2 separate regions of the Homo sapiens genome follow, and region 1 is linked to region 2. The links are contacts of gene promoters, found by promoter capture Hi-C in blood cells and fetal thymus (Javierre and others, 2016). All regions are on one chromosome and are shown on one strand. The core of a region is centred on a gene start or on the middle of the fragment in contact, and the rest is flanking DNA. Distances in the headings are between cores, read along the strand shown.

The links. The method cuts DNA at HindIII sites, captures the fragments that hold promoters and counts their contacts. A CHiCAGO score of 5 or more calls a contact.
Region 1: a fragment that was not itself captured here is called in contact with the fragment with the promoter of FRGCA in region 2 in 6 of 17 cell types (naive B cells, total CD4 T cells, total CD8 T cells and 3 more); the score reaches 6.8 in naive B cells.

Annotation. Positions count from the first base shown.
Region 1 is chr21:43,516,340-43,520,057 of GRCh38, reverse strand. It overlaps a transcript of HSF2BP not described here. Among named protein-coding and RNA genes, the nearest start is that of LINC00313, 40 kb to the right of the region's middle. The HindIII fragment of the contact is 638 bases long and covers 2,143-2,780 here.
Region 2 is chr21:43,139,679-43,143,718 of GRCh38, reverse strand. FRGCA (FOXM1-regulated, gastric cancer associated) reads left to right here and starts at 2,627. Exons shown (of 2, transcript NR_133677.1): 1 at 2,627-2,757; 2 at 2,906-3,196. The region is part of intron 4 of LOC101928369 (a long non-coding RNA gene); the gene reads right to left. RefSeq lists enhancers at 1,161-1,696, 1,697-2,234. The HindIII fragment of the contact is 22,159 bases long and covers 1-4,040 here.

The DNA.
Region 1 (3,718 bases), core at 1,212-3,711, 380 kb before region 2:
CATGAGTCATCAGTCAATATGTGTAAGAAGTACATTGGTTCAGTGCAGAAAGATGGCACGACTGGAAGCTGGGAGGAGTGGGAGGGCATTCCAGGTCATAGGTAAACAAGAGACAAAAGGTTGCATTCTTTTGGGTCTTTGATAAGCCTTTCACTGAATATACAATTTACATGTGAGAGGCAGGTAGAGAGGAATAGTCACTTATGCCTAAGCCTGGCTCAGTGAATCTGCACTTTTTTTTTTTTCGAGATGGAGTTTCACACTCTTGTCGCCCAGGCTGGAGTGCAGTGGCGCAATCTTGGCTCACTGCAACTTCTGCCTCCTGGGTTCAAGTGATTCTCCTGCCTCAGCCTCCCGAGTAGCTGGGATTACAGGCACGTGCCACCACGCCTGTCTAATTTTTAAAATATTTTTAGTAGACACAGGGTTTCACCATGTTAGCCAAGCTGGTCTCGAACTCCTGACCTCAGGTGATCCACCCGCCTCAGCCTCCCAAAGTGCCGGGATTATAGGCGTGAACCACTGTGCCCGGCCAAATCTTCATTTTTATACATAAACAATAGGGCAGAGGAAGCCATCAGATATGCATTTGTCTCAGGTGACCAGAGGGATGACTTTGAGTTCTGTCCTTTGTCCCATACCTGTGAAGATAACTTACCAATTTACATTGCCAGGGTGAAAATCAACAGAACTGTTTTAGGGTATAGATCTTGAGGCAAATTGTGAAGGAGGTATGTAGCTTTTTTTTAATCTTTGTAGCTATCTTATTTAGGAATAAAATGGGAGGCCTGACGCAGTTCCCAGTGTCAACAAAAAGAGTCAAACTCTCTAAAATATTTGAATAGATTTATTCTGAGCCAAATATGAGTGACCAGTGGCCCATGACACAACCCCAGGAGGTTCTGAGATCATGTATCCAAGGTGGATGGAGTACAGCTTGTACATTTTAGGGAGACATGAGACATCAATCAAATGCATGTAAATGTACTTTGGTTCGGTCTGGAAAAGCGGGACAACTGGAAGGTGGGGGCTTCCAACTCATAGGTAGATTCAAAGATATTCTGATTGACAGTTGGTTGAAAGAGTTAAGTTATTGTCTAAAGACTTAGGAATGTCTGGGTTAAGATAAGGGTTTGTGGAGACCATAGGTGAAGCCTCCAGGTAGCAGGCTTCGGAGACAATAGATTGTAAATGTTTCTTATCAGACTTAAAGACCCTATTCTATCAGTAATTCCAAAAGGGAAGAGGGTATAATGAGTCATGCCTGACTTCCCTTCCCATCATGGCCTGAACTTGTTTTTCAGGTTAGCTTTGGAATGCCCTTGCTGAGAGGAAGGGTCCGTTCTTGTCGGGGGACTTAGAATTTTATTTTTGGTTTACACCAGCTTGACTTTGCCCTTTGGCTTAGTGATTTTGGGGTCCCGAGATTTATTTTCCTTTCACAAAGTCTTCCTGGTCTTCAAGAAGGTGCCTTGAGAGCCCTTCCTTGTGCCGCCTTCTCCTCGGGGACCCCTGCCCCTGTGGCTGCAGTTTACCCTGGGTGGAAAAGGCACCCATGCCCAGGCTGGCTAGAGCCTCTGCCACTCAACTGGTTGGGCCTCCGTATTCCTTGGGTGCTGCTCCCACTACCTGTCCAAGCCACCCACCAGGGCCCCAGACTCCCCTAGCACTTCTCCTGGGCTGTGTCCTTCCCTGGAGGCTGCTGAGCTGCCCTGGACTCTCCCCACAGTCACACCACGGTGGGATCCACCCATAACCCCTGCCCTGACCCACAGACACTTATTGCCTGAATCAGGTGTGGACAGAGTTCAAGTTGTTTCAGTGATGTCCCTGGCAATTCAGTGGAGATGACCACAGATCTGTGTCTGTCTCTGTGTGTGTGTGTGTGTGTGTGTGTGTGTGTGTGTGTGTCTTTGTGTGTGACTGTGCCTCTGTGTGTGCCTATCTGTATGAGTCTGCATGTATGTGTGCATGTATGTCTGTGTGACTGTGCCTGTGAGTGTTGTTTCTGTATCTTGTCTGTATGTTTTTGTGTGTCTCTGTGTGCATCTCTCTCTCTGTCTGCGTCTCTGTGTGTGGGGACTGTCATACCTTCCTTCCCATGCTAAACATACCTGTGTCTTGACTCTAGTCCGGCAAGCTTCCCTCGCTACACCTCTGCCTCAACCCTAAGGAATTTGGCTGACACGCATACTAAGGTTTTCTAAGGGGGAGTTGGCTTTTGGCTGTGTGGGCTGGAACTAGGGTTTAGGGGAATGTTTGTCTCCCATTTGCTTCTGGCTCTGCACCCCCGTGTATGAGGGGGCAGGAGGGCACTGTGACTGCACCTCTCCCATGAGCCCAGAAGATACGTTTTACCCTGTGGGCACTGAAGACAGGGCCAGGTTTCTAGGGCTCTATAATCTTTTTAACTATTTTTGGCTACAGGTCAAGTGTAGATGTGTCAGGGGTCATAGACCTCTGAATCCTGCAGGACAAACCTGAAGCTATCTGCTTCATGGAGTTAAATGTTCATCAGATTTGCATTTCTCCCTTAAAACCTTGTCACTGGAAACCTGGGTGGAAGTCTGGCCCAGTGCAGAAGCCACCAGACTCTCCTGCCAGCTCCAGAGGCTGTCTTAGGATCCAGAGCCCCTTGCTTAATCCTGTTTTCTCTGCTGTGCTGGAAGAAAGTCCCATTCCTGGGTAATTGCCAGAAGAAAGGCTCCGTCTTAAGGTTAAAGGAGCTAGAATCACAAGGGGAATCAGTAAACCCAGTTCCCAGGCCAGGGACCCAAGCTTTGGGATGAGCGATCTGGTCTTCAAGGCCAAAATGCTTGCTCACCAGCTTTCTTTCTCCTCCACACTCTGTCCAGGTTTGGGGGCACTGTCTTAGGCCCCTTTGACGTCATCAGCACAAGAGACTCAGAGCAAGGAACAAAACTGCCTGTACTCGCCAGGGCTCCTGATGCTATCGTCTCGTAGGAAACCCTGAATGAGGTCTGGGCAGGTGAAAAGCCTTCCTGTTTGTCCTCTCAATTAGTCACACTTGGTTCTGAGCCAAGCCGTCTGCTCCCATGTTAATCCCCAGCCTGGGAGGGCAGGCTGCAGCCGGCAGGGCTTGCACAACCCGCAGTCCAGGCTGCAAGGTGGCTTCTCTTCCCTGTATTTTGCAGCCCCGGCCCTTACTCAGCACACACTTTCTTGTTTCTGAGTCCTTCCAAAACATTCTGGTCTGGGCTGTACTTTGTGCTGTTTGGGAGAGGCACCCCTCACCTCAGAGGGCAGCTGGAGACCTCCTGTGTGAGGAGGGCTTGGCCTCCTTCCTGGGGTCTCTGCTGCTCAGGCAGGGGGCTCCCTCTCCCTCTCCATGTGCTTGTGGGTGGGGGCAGAGGTCCCGGCCTTGTCTCATGTAGAAGAGATGGTTCCAGGCCACATAGGCCTGAGCTGGTCTGCTGCATGGAGTGGCCTGACCACCAAGCAGAGAGCAGGAACGGCAGGGGCAGTGCTTGTGCTTCGGGGTTTTTAGGGATTTATGAATGTGCACACCAAGAACAGCAAACAAACCAAAGTTCAAGTTATTTCTCTTTCTTACAAGTCTGCATGAATATAGTCTCTTCCAGAGGAAGTTGATTAAACTCTATTGCACCAGCCTCTGAAGAATGCATAGTATGAAATAGCAGAGCATTTCTTGTGGCTCCCAGATCTGCCACCTGCAGTGGGGCCAGGCTACCCGACA
Region 2 (4,040 bases), core at 1,378-3,877:
CTGGCCCCTGATCCATGGGACATCCTCCCCTTGATGAACCGGCATGCAGACCGGCCACCTCCACCCAGTCACCCTGACACAAACGCCCACAGCCTCTTCCAGCCCCTACTGAGAACCTATGTAAACGGTCTCAGAGAAACCACGGCCCCGAAACTTCCACAAAGCTACTGGCATAGCGGCTCTCTCAAGCCACTGCCCACACCACCAGCTCATTCTACCTGGCTCACCAAGGACCTGCATTGGGTGGAACTGTGTCCCCCAAAGCGATGTCTTCAAGTCCTAACCTCAAAACCTACGGATGTGATCTTATTTGGAAGTGGGGTCTTTGCAGATGTAATGAGGCTAAGATGAGGTCACACTGGAGAAGGTGGGCCCTCATCTAATGACTGGCGACCCTGTAAGAAGAGAGAAATTTGGACGCACACACACAGAGAGGTCGTGTAAACACGGAGGCAGAGGTAGGAGTGAGGCTGCCACAGATCAGAGTTCCAAGGCTTCCGGCACCCACCAGCAGCTGGCAGAAGCGAGGAAGGGAACTCTCCTAGAATCTCAGAGGGGGCGCGGCTCCACCCACACCTGGAGTTCAGACTTCTGGCCTCCAGAGCCACGACAGAGCACATGTCTATGGTTTAAGCCCCTCATTTTGTGGTACTTTGTTGGGCTGCCCCGGAACACTGATGCAAGCCTGGATTCGTCCATTTTCCCACTGCTATAAAGAACTTCTGGCTGGGTGCGGTGGCTCACGCCTGTAATCCCAGCACTTTGGGAGGCCGAGGTGGGTGGATCACCTGATGTCAGGAGTTCGAGACCATCATGGCCAACATGGTGAAACCCCATCTCTACCAAAAATACAAAAATTAGCTGGCAGTGGTGGCAGGCACCTGTAATCCCAGCTACTCGGGAGACTGAGGCACGAGAATCGCTTGAACCCAGGAGGCGCAGGTTGCAGTGAGCCGAGATGGTGCCACTGCACTCCAGCCTGGGTGACAGAGCAAGACTCTGTCTGAAAAAAAAAAAAAAAAACTTACTTGAGACTGGGTGATTTCTAAAGGAAAGAGTTTTCATTGACTCAGAGTTCTGCATGGCTGGGGAGGCCTCAGGAAACTTACAGTCATGGCTGAAGGGGAAGCAGGCACCTTCTTCACATGGTGGCAGGAGAGAGAGAGCAAGAGCAAGCGAAGGGGGAAGAGCCCCTTATAAAACCATCAGATCCCATGAGAACTCACTAGCTATCATGAGAACAGCATGGAGGAAACCGCCTCATGATCCAATCGCCTCCCTCCTTCAACACCTGGGGATTACAATTCGAGGTGAGATTTGGGTGGGGACACAGCCTCACCACATCATAGCCATTCTGCCCTCCCTGCCCTGCCCTGCCCTGCCTCCAGGTCTGCCTCCAGACCTGGAGTGTTTCTGAGAGTGGACCCAGCACAGGGAGGAGGTGGCTCAGGACACTCAACTCCTGGTCCAGCTCCCACTCATAGCTGGGGTCCTGGCCGGTGACTCCATCTCCCTTTCTGCTGTCTCCCTGTCTATAAGACAAGGGGCTGGGCCAGCCATCTCAAGGTCCCCTCCAGTTCCATCTTCCCAGGGCTGAGCAGGTCCTGGGCCTTGGCGTCACAGAGCCCAGCTCACAGGCCCACCCGGGAGAGGTATCGGGATGTGTCTTTGCCACATCATAAGTTAGGCAGAAAGATGTGTGGGACGTGGCCCTGCCCCCGGTCAGGACGGTGGACACATGCAAACGCCGCACAGACGCACCCTGCCCTGACACCGCCCGGAGCACCTGGGTGGCTTCCTGAATGGCGAGGCATGGTGGGCACTCATGGGCCTGCCGTGCACCCCACCTGCAGGGCACGTGCCCAGCAGACAGCAAGGGCTGAATGACAGGTGACAGGACGGCCGCCAGGCAGGCGAAGGTGGGGCCAAAGGCAAGGGTGGCTGCTCGGCTGCAGGGCACGGACACTCAGCCTCTATTTCCTCCTGGGGTGGCGAGGGGGGGCGAGGGAGGGGCGAGGGAGGGGCGAGGGGGGGCGAGGGAGGGGTGAGGGAGGGGTGAGGGACGGTCAGACCGGATGTGGCTGTGCTTCAGACCGCGCGGGAAGTCCTGGGATGGCGTGGAGCCCGCTTCAGCTGAAGGGACAGAGGGAGAGGCAGGGGCCAGACAGCGCCAACCACCTGAGACCCAGGCAAGAGACAGTATGGTGGGTGGGGGTACTGCCCAGTAAGGGCTGGGGGAGAGGACTGAGGAAACCCTCCCTCCATCAACGTGCCTGGGAGCCCTGCCAGGTGAGAGCCCTGTTGTTCCTGGATGACTGTGGACCGCTCACTCCGGCCCCTCAGCCCCTACCCAGCCTGCCCCCAGGAGCAGCACGGCTGGGCACCAGCATCTCTCCAGCTGGCAGTTGCCCCACTGGGATCCCCCAAATGCCCTGCAAGCCAAGGTGTGCAAGCCCTGCACACTGAGGGCTGGAGGGCAGCCCCCGTGCTGTGTTCCAGATGGAGGGAGGGGTGGGGAGGGGGGAGCTACACTGGGGAGGGCTGCGCCGGTCACTGCCGAGGAGGGAAAGCCTCAACATCACCCCTCTTACCCCCCATCTCCCGCAGCCTCCCAGCAAGGTTGTGGCCCGCAGCGGACGCTCCCCACGAGGTAGAGCCCCGTTTCCACACCTGGAGCAGCTGCACCTGGAGGTGGGGCTCATCTCCAGACCTGGAGCAGCTGCCTGCCCCAGGGCAGAAGCCACTGCCCGCAGCTAGGTGAGGCCATGTGCCCAGTCCTGGTCAATGGACTGAGCATGAGGGGATGTGTGCCCAGCAGCAGGGACTACTGTGCACTGAAGGCCAGGGCCGCTGGATTGGGACAAATAAATACAGCAGGTCCTCAAATCCCATCGTTTCATTCTAGGGAGCATTGAGGAGGTCTCCCCAGGTCCGCGCGGGTTTTCTCCAGGTCCTCCAGTTTCCTCCCACATCCCAAGTATACACCTCAGCCTCACGGCATGTCTACATGGGCCTAGTCCGAGTGAGTGTGGGTGTCCCATGGAGGCCTGTCCTATCCAGGGCGGGTGCCCACCTTGGCACTGAGCCTCCAGGATGGGCCCTGGTCACCTGCCACTCTGAACTGGAGAAAGCAAGTTGGAAAATGAATGAATACATGAATATAAATTATCAAATAAAAATTATAAAGCCTACGGTAATCACACAAACGCATGACAACAAACGCCGCGTGTGAGGGTGCTCAAGGAGCCGCCATACTCACGGTCGCTTGTCTTTCAGCTGTGCGGTGGGAGGAGGTGCTCCCAAGAGCGTGTGCTTTGCAGACATTGATTCCGTGATTTCACCACCACCACTACCACCGCCGTCACTCACAGACATCCCAAATATTGGGTAGATCATGATCTCACTTGTTTGTATTAATCTTCCTTATGTAGGTGTAGCTACCTCTACATGTAGGGATAGTTTACATTTATTTCAATGTTTAATATTAGAAGTGTTTGGGTCTTTAGAAATTTGGTGGTGTTTTTTGTTTTTTTGTGGGGTTTTTTTGGAAATAGGGTTTTGTTCCGTCGCCCAGGCTGGAGTGTGGTGGTGTGATCACAGCTCACCGCAACCTTAGCCTCTGAGGCTCAAGCAATCCTCCCACCTCAGCCTCCTAAGTAGCTGGGACCACAGGCACACACCACCTTTCCTGGCTAATTTGGGGGGCATTTTTTGTAGAGATGGGGTTTCATCATGTCGCCCAGGCTGGTTTTGAACTCCTTGCCTCAAGAGATCTGCCACCTCAGCCTCCCGAAGTGCTGGGATTACAGGTGTGAGCCACCACACCTGTTCTGGTGATGTTTTGAGAGCAGAAATATGCCTCTTTTTTTTTTTTGAGACAGAGTTTCACACTTATTGCCCAGGCTGGAGTGCGGTGGCGTGATCTCGGCTCACTGCAACCTCCACCTCCCAGGTTCAAGCGATTCTCCTGCCTCAGCCTCCCGAGTAGCTGGGATTACAGGCATGCACCACCACACCCAGCTACTTTTGTATTTTTAGTA